5 separate regions of the Homo sapiens genome follow, and all the other regions are linked to region 1. The links are contacts of gene promoters, found by promoter capture Hi-C in blood cells and fetal thymus (Javierre and others, 2016). All regions are on one chromosome and are shown on one strand. Each heading gives the region's core, a stretch centred on a gene start or on the middle of the fragment in contact. The rest is flanking DNA. Distances are from core to core; before and after follow the strand shown.

The links. Contacts are between HindIII fragments. The CHiCAGO score rates a contact against its expected background, and 5 or more counts as called.
Region 2: a contact is called between a fragment that was not itself captured here and the fragment with the promoter of VPS37D in region 1, in 11 of 17 cell types (monocytes, total CD8 T cells, naive B cells and 8 more). The highest score is 7.8, in monocytes.
Region 3: a contact is called between the fragment with the promoter of BCL7B here and the fragment with the promoter of VPS37D in region 1, in 17 of 17 cell types (monocytes, neutrophils, naive CD4 T cells and 14 more). The highest score is 12.5, in monocytes.
Region 4: a contact is called between a fragment that was not itself captured here and the fragment with the promoter of VPS37D in region 1, in 2 of 17 cell types (neutrophils and activated CD4 T cells). The highest score is 5.7, in neutrophils.
Region 5: a contact is called between a fragment that was not itself captured here and the fragment with the promoter of VPS37D in region 1, in 17 of 17 cell types (erythroblasts, endothelial precursors, naive B cells and 14 more). The highest score is 13.5, in erythroblasts.

The regions. Positions count from the first base shown.
Region 1 is chr7:73,666,546-73,669,152 of GRCh38, reverse strand. It overlaps VPS37D (VPS37D subunit of ESCRT-I), which reads right to left and starts at 1,322. Exons shown (of 4, transcript NM_001077621.2): 1 at 1,057-1,322. The coding sequence starts at 1,194. RefSeq lists an enhancer at 165-1,160 and silencers at 1,142-1,441, 1,552-1,651, 1,662-1,711. The HindIII fragment of the contact is 11,431 bases long and covers 1-2,607 here.
Region 2 is chr7:73,539,852-73,542,458 of GRCh38, reverse strand. BCL7B (BAF chromatin remodeling complex subunit BCL7B) reads left to right here. Exons shown (of 6, transcript NM_001707.4): 4 at 2,407-2,577. Among named protein-coding and RNA genes, the nearest start is that of BCL7B, 17 kb to the left of the region's middle. The HindIII fragment of the contact is 3,180 bases long and covers 1-2,607 here.
Region 3 is chr7:73,556,393-73,558,999 of GRCh38, reverse strand. BCL7B (BAF chromatin remodeling complex subunit BCL7B) reads left to right here and starts at 1,310. Exons shown (of 6, transcript NM_001707.4): 1 at 1,310-1,513. The coding sequence starts at 1,422. RefSeq lists silencers at 1,035-1,274, 1,325-1,434, 1,455-1,504, 1,525-1,974. The HindIII fragment of the contact is 11,403 bases long and covers 1-2,607 here.
Region 4 is chr7:73,753,161-73,755,767 of GRCh38, reverse strand. No RefSeq gene overlaps it. Among named protein-coding and RNA genes, the nearest start is that of ABHD11, 16 kb to the right of the region's middle. The HindIII fragment of the contact is 4,808 bases long and covers 1-2,607 here.
Region 5 is chr7:73,600,608-73,603,214 of GRCh38, reverse strand. All of the region lies in intron 7 of MLXIPL (MLX interacting protein like), which reads left to right. Among named protein-coding and RNA genes, the nearest start is that of MLXIPL, 23 kb to the left of the region's middle. RefSeq lists silencers at 62-356, 1,082-1,376 and enhancers at 62-356, 1-385. The HindIII fragment of the contact is 3,425 bases long and covers 1-2,607 here.

The sequences.
Region 1 (2,607 bases), core at 73-2,572:
CTTAAGTGAGGAAAACTATAAAGGCCTCTACAAATGTTAGTTAATTTTTAATTTTTCAATTAATATGTCTGCTCAGGTCCCGGAGGAGTGCCCCTCCCTCCTCTGCCCCATTTTCCATGCATGGACAGCTTCCCTCTCACTCCAGGCCTTTGTCTGTTTCCTCCTCAGGTGTTTGCACCGAAAACACTCCCACCCCCTGCTCATCCTCTCCAGAGGGGTGTCTGCACCCCGTCCCCTCACAGCACCCCCTCGGGTCACCCTCTCTTCCCTTCCCACCCCTTCCTCTGCCTCCAGTGGAATCCTCACACCCCAAGGAATACACACCCCCTTTTCCTCCCTGCTCCGGGCTTACAGCAGCCCCGGCCCTGGAGAAGGCTTTTTCCTTGTCTCTAGCAGGGCCCAACCTCCCCTCCCTGCCCCTGGAGAACGCACTCCCCTCCATCTGTCCCTTGTGGGATGCACAAGCCCCTCCTCGCCTGCCTGCTTTCAACACACACTTGCCCTTTCTGCCCCCCACAGACAACCAGCCCGGGCCTATCTCCCGTGAAATATACAACTTTCTCTTACGGTGGCCTATGCAATACACACGGCAGCTTCCAGCACCCCTCCCCAACGCCAGGCACAAAGCCCCCTCTTGCGCCCCCAGAATGCGTGAACCCCCAACGGCCCCTCCAGGTGTCAGACAGGCCCCTAGTTCTCCCAGTGGAAGGCGCCTCCTCTTTCTGGCCCTTACAGAACGTGGGTGTGCGAGCCAGGGCCCCCCACAACACAGCCCCCCGGAACACACCTCCCCGGAGCATCCGCTGTAGGACACGCCTCGCGGCCATCCTGGGGGTGCACAGGCGCCCCCCTCGGGTCCCCGGCGCCCCACCCGCCCCAGGCCAGCTCCAAGCGCCCCCTCCCCCGGGGGTGGCTCCGCGGGGCCCACTCGTACGTGCCAGGCTCCGCGCCCACGGGCGGCCCCGCGGCCCGGCCCGCGCGGCCCTTCCCTCGAGCGGCAGGTCCCGCAGGCCGCTGCCCGTCCCCCGCGCCCCCCGCTCGAGCCCCCCGCGCTACCTTCCTGCTGAGCCGCACGATCCGGTCCAGCTTGGGCTCATCCTGAAGCAGGTCCCGGAGCTGCCCGGTGCTGAGGATCCCAAAGCGCCCCGGGCTGCCGGGCTCCGGCCCCGCCCGCGCCGCCCGGGCCCGGTACATGCCGCCCGCCCGCGCCCCCAGCTCGGCTGCTGGCTCGGCCCGCTCGGCCCGCTCCGCCCCGGCTCCGCTCCGCTCCGCTCCGCTCCGGCTCCAGGATCCGCTCCGGCTCCGGCCGCACGCACCGCTCCGCCGCCAGGGGGCGCCCCTCCCGCTCTTAAAGGAGCCGCGGCGCCGGGGCTGGGGGTGGGGCAGGGAGGAGGCGGGCCGCACCCCTCCCCGCCCCGGCCGCGCCGCGCCGCCTCCAGCACCCCAGGATCGCCCAGCAACCCGATCTCCCCGCCCCTCCCGGAATCTGAGCCGCCCTGCTCTGCGCCCCAGCACCGGCCCTGGCTCACCACGCCCCCAGGCACGGACTCTCCCACCCCGGGCGGTTACAATTTGCAGAGCCCGTGCACGTTTTCCCCTCGGATGGCAACAACAAATTTCTGACTTTGGCCGGGCGCCGAGGGCTCCTGCCTTGCAGCCCTCCCCAAGCCTCAGTTTTCTCTTCTGTAAAATGGGGTTGGAGATGGTGAGCGCTGACTTGCTGGCCGGGCGCGGTGGCTCTCTCCTGTAATTCCAGCGATTTGGGAGACCGAGAAGGGAGGATCGCTTGAGGCCAGGAGTTTGAGACCAGCCTGGGCAACATAACAAGACCCCCGTCTCTATTTAAAAAAATTTAAAAATTGTCAAAAGGGTGAAAAGAGGCCGGGCGCGGTGGCTCACGCCTGTAATCCCAGCACTTTGGGAGGCCGAGGCGGGCGGATCACGAGGTCAGGAGATCGAGACCATCCTGGCTAACATGGTGAAACCCCGTCTCTACTAAAAATACAAAAAAAATTAGCCGGGCGTGGTGGCGGGCGCCTGTAGTCCCAGCTACTCGCGAGGCTGAGGCAGGAGAATGGCGTGAACCCGGGAGGCGGAGCTTGCAGTGAGCGGAGATCGCGCCACTGCACTCCAGGCTGGGTGACAGAGCGAGACTCCGTCTCAAAAAAAAAAAAAAAAAGAGTGAAAAGAACAATTTTTAAAAGTATTTAAATGCTTTTAAAAAGTATCCGGACATGGTGGCATGCGTCTGTAGTCCTAGCTACTCAGGAGGCAGAGGTGGGAGATTGCTTGAGCTCAGTTTTGAGACCAGCCTGGGCAACACAGCAAGACCCCATCTCTATAAAAGTAAAATTAAAATGCTGAGGGATAGTGATATGGCTAGCAATGTTATAATGAATACACATAGTAGGTCAATACCCACTTGTTATTTTAGACATGCAGAAGCATCACAGAGGCCGGGCACGGTAGCCCATGCCTGTAATCCCAGCACTTTGGGAGTCCAAGGTGGGTGAATCATTTGAGGTCAGAAGTTTGAGACCAACCTGACCAACAAAAATTAGCCGGGCGTGGTGGTGGGCGCCTGTAATTCCAGCTACTCAGGTGGCT
Region 2 (2,607 bases), core at 52-2,551, 130 kb after region 1:
GTATTAAAGGTCTTTATAGGAGTCAAGACTAGCATGAGTTTATGACTTTCTCTTCAAAACCAGATTGGAGCTAACCCAGCGTGTAGTTATTCCTTCCCCACCTCTTTCCCAGGCCCCACCAAGGTCAACCATGTGCTGTTGGAAAGGGAACACCAACGTGTGTTCAGTAGTCAGAAGGCTCTGGGAGACATATGAGGCTCCATTTCCTCAGTCTGGCCACCATCTCCTCCTTTTCATTTAGTAAACACTTAATGAACTCCCACTGTATGCAGGTACCGTGCGTTGCACTGGGGAGTCAAGGACAAGTGAGCCACAGAGCCTGTCCACAGAGGCTCATGGGAGGAAGCACGTGTGCGAAATGATAAATGCAGGCGTGCACAGGCTATCACAGGAGAGTAAGAGAGGGTGGGCATTTCCACCTATGCGAGCCAGGGAGGTAGGGCTCCGCGGAAGAAGTGATGTCGGGGCTGTGTTGGGAGGTCTGAGGCTTTCCAGGACAAGAGAAGGCAGCCTAGCCAAGGAACAGCTGGGCAGAAGCACCCATGCATGACGAAGCTCTTGGGTTAGGGTCCAGTCTGCCTGGAGCTGAGGATGCTTGTAGGAGAACAGTAGGCACTGAGGCCAGAGATCAGAAAGGACTTCCTATGTTGCGATAAGGCCAGCTCCTGCCTCTCCTAAGAAGTACTGGGTATGGCTGGGCGTGGTGGCTCATGCCTGTAATCCCAGCACTTTGGGAGGCTGAGGCAGGTGGATTACCTGAGGTCAGGAGTTCGAGACCAGCCTGACCAACATGGTGAAACCCCGTCTCTAATAAAAATACAAAATTACCCAGGCGTGGTGGCGCAAGCCTGTAATCCCAGCTACTCAAGAGGCTGAGGCAGGAGAATCAGTTGAACCCAGGAGGCAGAGGTTGTGGTGAGCTGAGATAGCACCATTGCACTCCAGCCTGGGCAACAAGAGCGAAACTCGGTCTCAAAAAAAAAAAAAAAAAAAGTACTGGGTATGACATTTCTCCCTTAGGCAGCAGTGGAGCGTCGAAGGGTTTAGAAAGGTCTCTCTGGCAGTGGTTTGCAGTTCAGTTTAAGGTACGTGAGACTGGAGGCAGGGCAGTGAGGTATGTGGCTGTTGCAGGAGGCCAGGCTGGAGATGATGAGGCTTGAACTGAAGCAGTAGGAGAGGAAGGAATGAGCACAAATGATACCAGAGCAGGAGGGGGAAACACTTTGGTGACTGGCTACTGTAGGTGCAGCGGAGGAATGCATTGGTGACTCTTACTTTTTTTCTTTTTTTTTAATTTTAATTTTTATTTTTTGAGACGGAGTCTCGCCATGTCACCCAGGCTACAGTGCAATGGCACGATCTCAGCTCACTGCAACCTCCACCTCCCGGGTTCAAGCGATTTTCCTGCCTCAGCCTCCCAAGTAACTGGGATTACAGGCGCGTGCTATCATGCCCGGCTAATTTTTGTATTTTCAGTAGAGACGGGGTTTCACCATGTTGGCCAGGCTGGTCTCAAACTTCTGACCTCAAGTGATCCGCCCACCTTGGCCTCCCAAAGTGCTGGGATTACAGGCGTGAGCCACTGCACTCGGCCTGGTAACTCTTTTTTTTTTTTTTTTTTTTTTTTTTGAGACAGAGTCTCGCTCTGTTGCTCAGGCTGGAGTGCAATGGCGCGATCTCGGCTCACTGCAAGCTCTGCCTTCTAGGTTCATGCCATTCTTCTGCCTCAGCCTCCTGAGTAGCTGGAACTACAGGTGCCCACCACCACAGCCGGCTAATTTTTTGTAATTTTAGTAGAGACGGGGTTTCACCGTGTTAGCCAGGATGGTCTCGATGTCCTGACCTTGTGATCTGCCCACCTCGGCCTCCCAAAGTGCTGGGATTACAGGCGTGAGCCACCGTGCCTGGCCTCGGCCTGGTAACTCTTAAGTTTTGCACCTTGATGGTGACTTTAAGCCTTCAGGCAGAACTCCCAGGTGCTAATCCGTCAGTCCGGCAGCCGAAGCCTGAGCTCACCACCTTCAGACACCACCAGCCTCCTTCAGATGCCCAAGGATGCCTGACAAATGTCATTTTCTACACATCTTATGATGTGAGAAGGATTGAGAAGTACTGACCAGAGACACAGCTACATCCCTCCCTTCCACAAGCTGCAATCAGTGGATAATAAAGAAGAGTTTAATAAGCATATCCTGACCTTCCTAAAGTGTAATGTTGCATAAACATAAAGATTCTGGCTGCCTCTGGTGCTTAGAATCTATGTCGTGTAGGCCGGGCACAATGATTATTATACTCAGTTGTATCCTTGGCTGCCTAAAGTGATGCCAGGCCCTTGGCTCTGTCCAGAGTTCCTCTTGAGGAAAATGACCACGCTCAGCTGCTGCCTTTGTTCTGTTTGGTTTTCAGACGAAAACAGCAACCAGAGTTCCGTGTCTGACGTCTATCAGCTTAAGGTGGACAGCAGCACCAACTCAAGCCCCAGCCCCCAGCAGAGTGAGTCCCTGAGCCCAGCACACACCTCCGACTTCCGCACGGATGACTCCCAGCCCCCAACGCTGGGCCAGGAGATCCTGGAGGGTGAGTCGTGGTTGGCCGAGGATGAGTTTC
Region 3 (2,607 bases), core at 61-2,560, 110 kb after region 1:
CGCCTGTAATCCCAGTACTTTGGGAGGCCGAGGCAGGTGGATCACGAGGTCAGGAGTTCAAGACCAGCCTGACCAACATGGTGAAACCCCATCTCCACTAAAAATAAAAAAATTAGCTGGGTGTGATGGCGGACGACTATAATCCCAGCTACTCGGAAGGCTGAGACAGAAAATTGCTTGAACCCGGGAGGCGGAGATTGTAGTGAGCCGAGATCACACCACTGTACTCCAGCCTGGGCAAAAGAGCGAGACTCCGTCTCAAAAAAAAAAAGGCCAGGCGTGGTGGCTCACGCCTGTAATCCCAGCACTTTGAGAGGCCAAGGCGGGCAGATCACGAGGTCAGGAGTTCCAGACCAGCCTGACCAACATGATAAAACCCCGTCTCTACTAAAATTACAAAAATTAGCTGGGCGTGGTGGCACCCGCCTGTAATCCCAGCTACTCAGGAGGCTGAGGCAGAAGAACCGCTTGAACCCGGGAGGCGGAGGTTGCAGTGAGCGGAGATCACACCACTGCACTCCAGCCTGAGTCACAGAGCGAGACTCCGTCTCAATAAATAAACAAACTGGAAGCTCTTTGAAACCAAAACCACGTATGTCTTCAGCTTTAGGTACAGAGTCTTGCACAAAATAGACATCTTTTTATTTATTTACTTTAGAGACGGGGTCTCGTTTAGACATGGGGTCTCCATATGTTGCCCAGGCTGGAGTGCAGTGGCTATTCACAGGTGCGATCATATCATAGCTGACGGCAGCCTCAAATTCCTGGGGTCAAGTGATCCTCCCGCTTCAGCCTCCCAAATACTTGGGACTACTAGATACTCGAGAAAAGGCAAGAATGTGGTCTGAATGCTGGGAAAGCAGTTCATCTGGTAAAGAGAGGAGGGGATTCCAGGTGAGGAACAGGTGTGTGCAAAGACCGGAAGCCATCCTTAAGAAAGGCGTGGTTGGAGCACAGCGTAGGAGCCAGAGGGCAAAGGTGCTGGGCAGGAGAGGCGGGAGGACAGAGATGGCGCAGGAGTGCGGTTCCACAGGGTCAGGTTCCTAACACGCTGGCCAGAGCAGGGAGCCGACCTCCAAACTCTCAGGGAAGAGAACCAGGTTGCCCACCGGCGGCACCTCGCACCTCGCCCTGACCACAAGCACGTGCGCCCAACCCGCCTCGCACCCCGGCCCGGGTAGGGGGCTCAGGGGACTCCCGGGGCACTCAGGAGGGACGCCCCGGGCGGGGCGCGCAGGCGCGCTGAGGCCGTGAGCCCCAAGGGGCGGGCGGGTGCGCGCGCTTTCTCGCGCACGCGCGCACGGAGGGGGCGACGGCCGCTGTGACGCTGCGGCGGCGGCGGGCGGGCGGCGGCGCGTGAGGCGCGCGATCCCCGGTGTCTTGGGAGCAGTGCCCCGGCCCCCGCCGCTCCCGCCGCCGCCATGTCGGGCCGGTCGGTCCGGGCGGAGACCCGCAGCCGGGCCAAGGACGACATCAAGAAGGTGATGGCGGCCATCGAGAAAGTGCGGAAATGGTGAGGGGCCGGAGCTTAGGGGGCTGGCGGGGGTCGCGGATCCAGGCCCTGAGGAGCGTGGGACTGGCGGGTCAGGTGGGAGCCGACCGGCCGGCGCTGGGGGAGGGGGGTGCGGGAGAAGGCGGGAGGAGGGCGCCGCTGGCGTCGGCGTGAGGTCAGAGGGCGCGCCGGCCGCGGCCAATCAGCGGTCCTCCCGGCTCGCGGGCCCGCCCACCTGCTGCGGCTGCTGCCGCGCGCCGCCTGGGAGGGGATTCCGGCTTCCGGCCCGGACTGGAGCTGCCTGGCGTCGGTGCCCGCGCCCGGCCCAGCCCGGGGCCCGCCCTCCCCTCTTCCTGGGCAGTGGCCCCGCCTGCGTTTCCAGGCTTCCTCTTGATAATAGCGAGTAGCCCTGGAGTGGTGTCAGCCCGCCAGGCTGAGCGCTCTGCGTATTCAGGCGTTGAAGTTGGGTGAGTTTCTGGGTTAGTCCATCTGTCAAGGGAGCAAGCCTGGTGTCATCCAGAGGGATACCCCTCCCTTTCCCCCAGTAACCGGCCCCTGCGCCGCGAGCTTGGTAGGCATTTTCTCTTGCTGCCCCGGCGGCTGTCAGGAGAGTCCTTTGCAAACTATGTACCAGCCTCCCTCTAATTTCCCTGCTTCTGCTCTTGTTCATTCCCCAGTCCGTTCATCATTTGCACTGTGTGATTTTATTTTTCTCACTTCCAAGTAGCAGAGTGGTCTTTTTAAAGTGCACATCCTTACTTGGGAGGCTGTGGTGGGAGGATTGCTGGGACCCAGGAGTTGGAGGCTGCAGTGAGCTATGATCGTGCCACGGCACTCCAGCCTGGGCTACGGAGAGAGACCCCGTGTCTAAAATGTTCATGGAAGATGCCGATTGAGCCCCTGTTTAGTATCCGGAACTCCGATACATACTATATCGGTGTGTATCGGAGTCATCACATTAAACTTTCACAGCCAACTTCGTCAGCTCTTTTGTATAGCCAATTACTACTAATAATTTAAAAACCCAGGTCTGGCTAGGTGAGGTGGCTCAGGCATGTAATCCCAGCACTTTGGGAGGCTGAGGTGGGCGGATCGCTTGAGGCCAGGAGTTTGAG
Region 4 (2,607 bases), core at 81-2,580, 87 kb before region 1:
TTTTCTTTGAGACGGGGTCTCGCTCTCTGGCCCAGGCTAGGATGCAGTGGTGCGATCTCAGCTCACTGTAACCTCCGCCTCCCGGGTTTAAGGAATTCTCCCGCTTCAGCCTCTCAAGTAGCTGGGATTACAGGCACCCACCCCCATGCCCAGCTAACTTTGGGGGTTTTTCTGAGACAGAGTTTACCTCTTGTCGCCCAGGCTGGAGTACAATGGCACGATCTCGGTTCACTGCAACCTCCACCTACCGGATTCAAGCAATTCTGCTGCCTCAGCCTCCCAAGTAGCTATGATTACAGGCACCCACCAGCACGCCTAATTTTTGTAATTTTAGTAGAGACAGTGTTTTGCCATGTTGGCCAGGCCAGTCTCGAACTCCTGACCTCAGGTGATCCTCCTGGCTTGGCCTCCCAAAGTGCTGGGGTTAGAGGCGTGAGCCACCATCCCCAGCCAAACTTTTTGTATTTTTAGTAGAGATGGTGTATCATCATGTTGGCCCATCTGCTCTCAAACTCCTAACCTCAAGTGATCTGCCCACCTTGGCCTCCCAAAGTGTGGGGATTACAGCCGTGAGCCACCACGCCTGGCCGGTTTTTGGTTTGGTTGGGTTTTTTAATTAACTTTTATTTTAGGTTTGGGGATACATATGAAGGTTTCTTACATAGGTAAACACGTGTCACAGGAGTTTGTTGAACAGATTATTTTGTCACCCAAGTAAGCCCAGTACCCAATAGTGATCTTTTCTGCTCCTCTCCCTCCTCCCACCCTCACCCTCAAGTAGACACCAGTGTCTGTTGTTTCCCTCTTTGTGTTCATAAGTTCTTATCATTTAGCTCCCACTTATAAGCAGGAACATACGCTATTTGGTTTTCTGCTCCTGTGTTAGTTTGCTAAGGATAACAGCCTCAAGCTCCATCCATGTTCCTGAAAAAGACACGTTCTCATTCTTTTTTATAGCTGCATAGTACTCCATGGTGTATATGTACCACATTTTCTTTATCCAGTCTATCACTGATGGGCATTTAGGTTGATTCCATGCCTTTGCTATTGTGAATAGTGCTGCAGGGCTGGTTGTTGTTGTTGTTGTTTTTTAATTACATTTCTTTTTTTTTTTTTTTTTTTTTTTTTTTTGAGATGGAGTCTCGCTTGGTTGCCCAGGCTGGAGTGCAGTGGCGCCATCTCAGCTCACTGCAAGCTCTGCCTCCCGGGTTCATGCTATCCTCCTGCCTCAGCCTCCCAAGTATCTGGGACTACAGGTGCCTGCCACCACACCCGGCTAATTTTTTGTTGTTGTTGTATTTTTAGCAGAGACGGGGTTTCACCATGTTAGCCAGGATGGTCTCGATCTCCTGACCTTGTGATCCGCCCACCTCGGCCTCCCAAAGTGCTCGGATTATAGGCATGAACCACTGCGCCCGGCCTAAATTTCTTTTTTTAAATAGAGACAGGGTTTTGTCATATTGCCCAGGCTGGTCTGGAACTCCTGGGCTCAAGTGATCCGCCCACCTCACCCTCCCAAAATGCTGGAATTACAAGCGTGAGCCACCATGCCCAACCTATAAGTATGCTTCTGAGTCTTAAATAAGTAAGTTTGAGATGGGCAGAGCTAAGAGGGGAAGCCTTCCCAAGCAGGATTCACTGATGGGCAACAGCAAGGAGAAAAATGATATGCACAAGGCAGAAAAATGATATGCACAAGAGTGAGCAGAGGCTGACCTGATTGAAGCAGGAAATTCATATCCAGAAACAGTAAGAGGCCAGGCGCGGTGGCTCATGCCTGTAATCCCGGCACTTTGGGAGGTCGAGGCAGGCGGATCACCTGAGGTCAGGAGCTCAAGACCAGCCTGGCCAACATGGTGAAACACCGTCTCTACTAAAAATACAAAAATTAGCCAGGCATGGTGGTGCGAGCCTGTAATCCCAGCTACTCAGAAGGCTGAGGAACAAGAATTGTTTGAACTTGGGAGGTGGCGGTTGCAGTGAGCTGAGATTGCACCACTGCACTCCAACCTGGGTGACAGAGTGAGACTCTGTCTCAGAAAAAAAAAGAACAAAGTTGGAGGACTCATACTTTCTGCTTTCAAAACTTACTACAAAGCTACAGTAATCAAAACAGTGGTACTGGCATGAAGACAGACATATAGACCAATGGAATAGAATAAAAAGCTCAGAAATAAACACTCATATATGAAGTCAAATAATTTTCAATAAGGATACCAAAACCACTCAGTGAGGAATGGGCAATCTTTTCACAGATAATGCTGGGAAAACTGGATATTTGCATGCAAAAAAATGAAGTTGGTTCCTTAACACCATATAAAAAAATTTACTCAAAATGGATCAAAGACCTAAATATAAGATCTAAAACTATAAAACTTAGATGGCTGATCAACCAAGTTTATAGGATATTATAAATCCTTTGTTGTCATTTCAACAGTGTTCACACAATCTTCACCAGGAGTAGTTTCCATCTCAAGAAACCACTTTCTGGCTGGGCGCGGTGGCTCACGCCTGTAATGCCAGCAATTTGGGAGGCTGAGGCAGGTGGATCACTTGAGGTCAGGAGTTTGAGACCAGCCTGGCCAACATGGTGAAACCCTGTCTCTA
Region 5 (2,607 bases), core at 54-2,553, 66 kb after region 1:
GCGCACTGGTACCACCAAGACGGCAGCTCTCGTTGCCCCCAAGAGCCTCCCACTGGGGAGGTCTGGCTGGAAACCCAGGGAGGGGACCAGAACTCTATGGAGGCAGGAGGCTTAGTGAGGGGTGCTCAGGGAGGCAGCCAGAGGCAGAGGAGCTCAGGGAGGGGATGACAGGTCAGGTCCGTGGAGGGGACAGAGGCTAGGGAGGGACTTGGGCCCTGGTGAGCAGCTCGGGCTGGGAAGCAACTTCTCTCAAGGCAGGGTGGGGACAGGCCTGGGCAACGATGGTAAGCGGGTGGCTGGTGACTCAGGGATGAGAGGGCCTTGCGGCCCCATGACCCCTGCCCGGGACCCAGGGAGTGGGCAGCAGCTGTGAGCAGGGAGGAGCCCTAGGCCCTCAGCGGCCTGGGGCCAGGCACAGCATGAGGCTGATTCTAGAGCCAGGGCCTCGGGGACCTAGTGACAGGAACTGTGGACCCTGGGAGATGGGGGAGCAGCAGTGACCACTCGCCATCTCCCACCTGGTCCCCCTTTTTTTGAGATGGAATCTTGCTCTGTTGCCCAGGCTGGAGTGCAGTGGCATCATCTTGGCTCACTGCAACCCCCACCTCCCGGGTTCAAGCAATTCTCCTGTCTCAGCCTCCAGAATAGCTGGGACTACAGGCGCCCGCCACCACGCCTGACTAATTTTTGTATTTTTTTTTTTTTTAGTAGAAACGGGGTTTCCCCTCATTGGCCAGGCTGGTCTCGAACTCCTGACCTCAGGTGATCCGTCCACCTCAGCCTCTCAAAGTGCTGGGATTACAGGCGTGAGCCACCGCGCCTGGCCTGGTCCCCCTTTTAAAGAAAGGCAGCAGGGGGGCCTGTAATCCCAGCTACTCAGGAGGCTGAGGCAAGGAGAATTGTTTGAACCTGGGAGGCTGCAGTGAGCCGAGATCGTGCCACTGTACCCCAGCCTGGGCTACAGAGCGAGACTCCATCTCAAAAAAAAAAAAAGAAAGAAAGAGAGAAAGAGAGAGAGAGAGATGAAAGAAAGAGAGAGAGGGAAAGAAAGGAAGGAAGGAAGGAAGGAAGGAAGGAAGGAAGGCAGGCAGGCAGGCAGGCAGGCAGGCAGGCAGGAAGGCAGGCAGGCAGGCAGGCAGGCAGGTGGACAGCAAGAAGACACCGTTTTGCCATGAGGTTAGACACGCGGACAGGCACAGAGCAGACGCACGTGCACCATGCTATCATGGCAGGACAGGTTCACATGGCCTCAGACGGAGCGACAGACACCCAGAGGGTAGGCAGAGGCTGCGTGCAGACCCCATGCTGAGACTCCAGGGTTCAGCGACTGCAACACACAGGCTCTGCACCCTCCTGCAAAGCAAAGCCACTGACGACACACAGGGCCGGGCGCGGTGACTCACTCCTGTCATCCCAGCACTTTAGGAGGCCAAAGCAGGAGGATCGCTTGAGCTCAGGAGTTTGAGACCAGCCCGGGCAACATGGCAAAACCCCATTTTTGCTAAAAAATACAAAAATTAGCTGAGTGTGGTGGTGCATGCCTGTAATCCCAGCTACTCGGGAAGCCGAGGCATGAGAATCGTTTGAACCCAGGAGGTGGAGGTTGCAGTGAGCCGAGATGGTGCCACCGCATTCCAACCTGGGTGACAGCAAGGCACGGTGGCTAACTTCCTCCCCTCGCCCTGCACCCCTTTCCCACCCTGGCATTCTCTCTGGGCACCTCCTTTCTGTACCAGCAGATCAGGGAAAGGGAGCCACCAGGGGATGGGAAGGGGGACTTCCTGAGCTAAGCCTGGTGCTGTGCAGGGGAGGGGACTGCTTCCTGGGGTTCCTGTTCACACCCACAGTCCCCTGCTGTCTCCCACGCAAGCTCATTATAATCCCAGCACTTTAGGAGGCTGAGGCAGGAGGATGGCTTGAGGCCAGAAGTTTGAGACCAGCCTGGGCAACATAGCACGATTCTATCTCTGGGGGATGGGGTTGGGGGTGAAGACACAAACACACACACACACACACACACACACACACACACACACACTTGACCCTGCAGTGGGTTCTGGGTTTGGGGTGACCTTATCTAACTGACTCCTGGTCTCCTTGGAGGTGGCTCCTGGGAGGCAGACTTGAGCAGCTCTCCTGGCAGGGGGGTGGGAGGGAAAAAACTGGGAGCTGGGGCCCACCCAGGTCTGTGGGGAGTTGTCACGGTGGGGTCGGAACTGCCCAGACTAAGAGGCCTCAGGAGCTGGCACGGATCACAGGCTGGTCAGGGTCAGAGAAAGGTGCCCGGAAGGGAGCGGGTGGGCGGGCGGCGCCCAGGCCCGGGATGTGGTCAGGCCGTGGCCAGCTGCTTCCCAAAACCAGAATAGCCCAGGACTTACACAACCCGCACCCCAAACAATCCGCTACTGCCTCCCCCAGCTCTCGCAGGCTTCCCAGACCCCTTGCCCCACCCCACTCAGAGCCCACCCTTAGGCCCCTCTCGCCCCCACCCCACTCAGAGCCCACCCTTAGGGCCCCTCTCGCCCCCACCCCTTTCGGAGCCCAGCCTTAGGCCCCTCTCGCCCCCACCCCACTCGGAGCCCACCCTTAGGCCCCCTCTCATCCCCA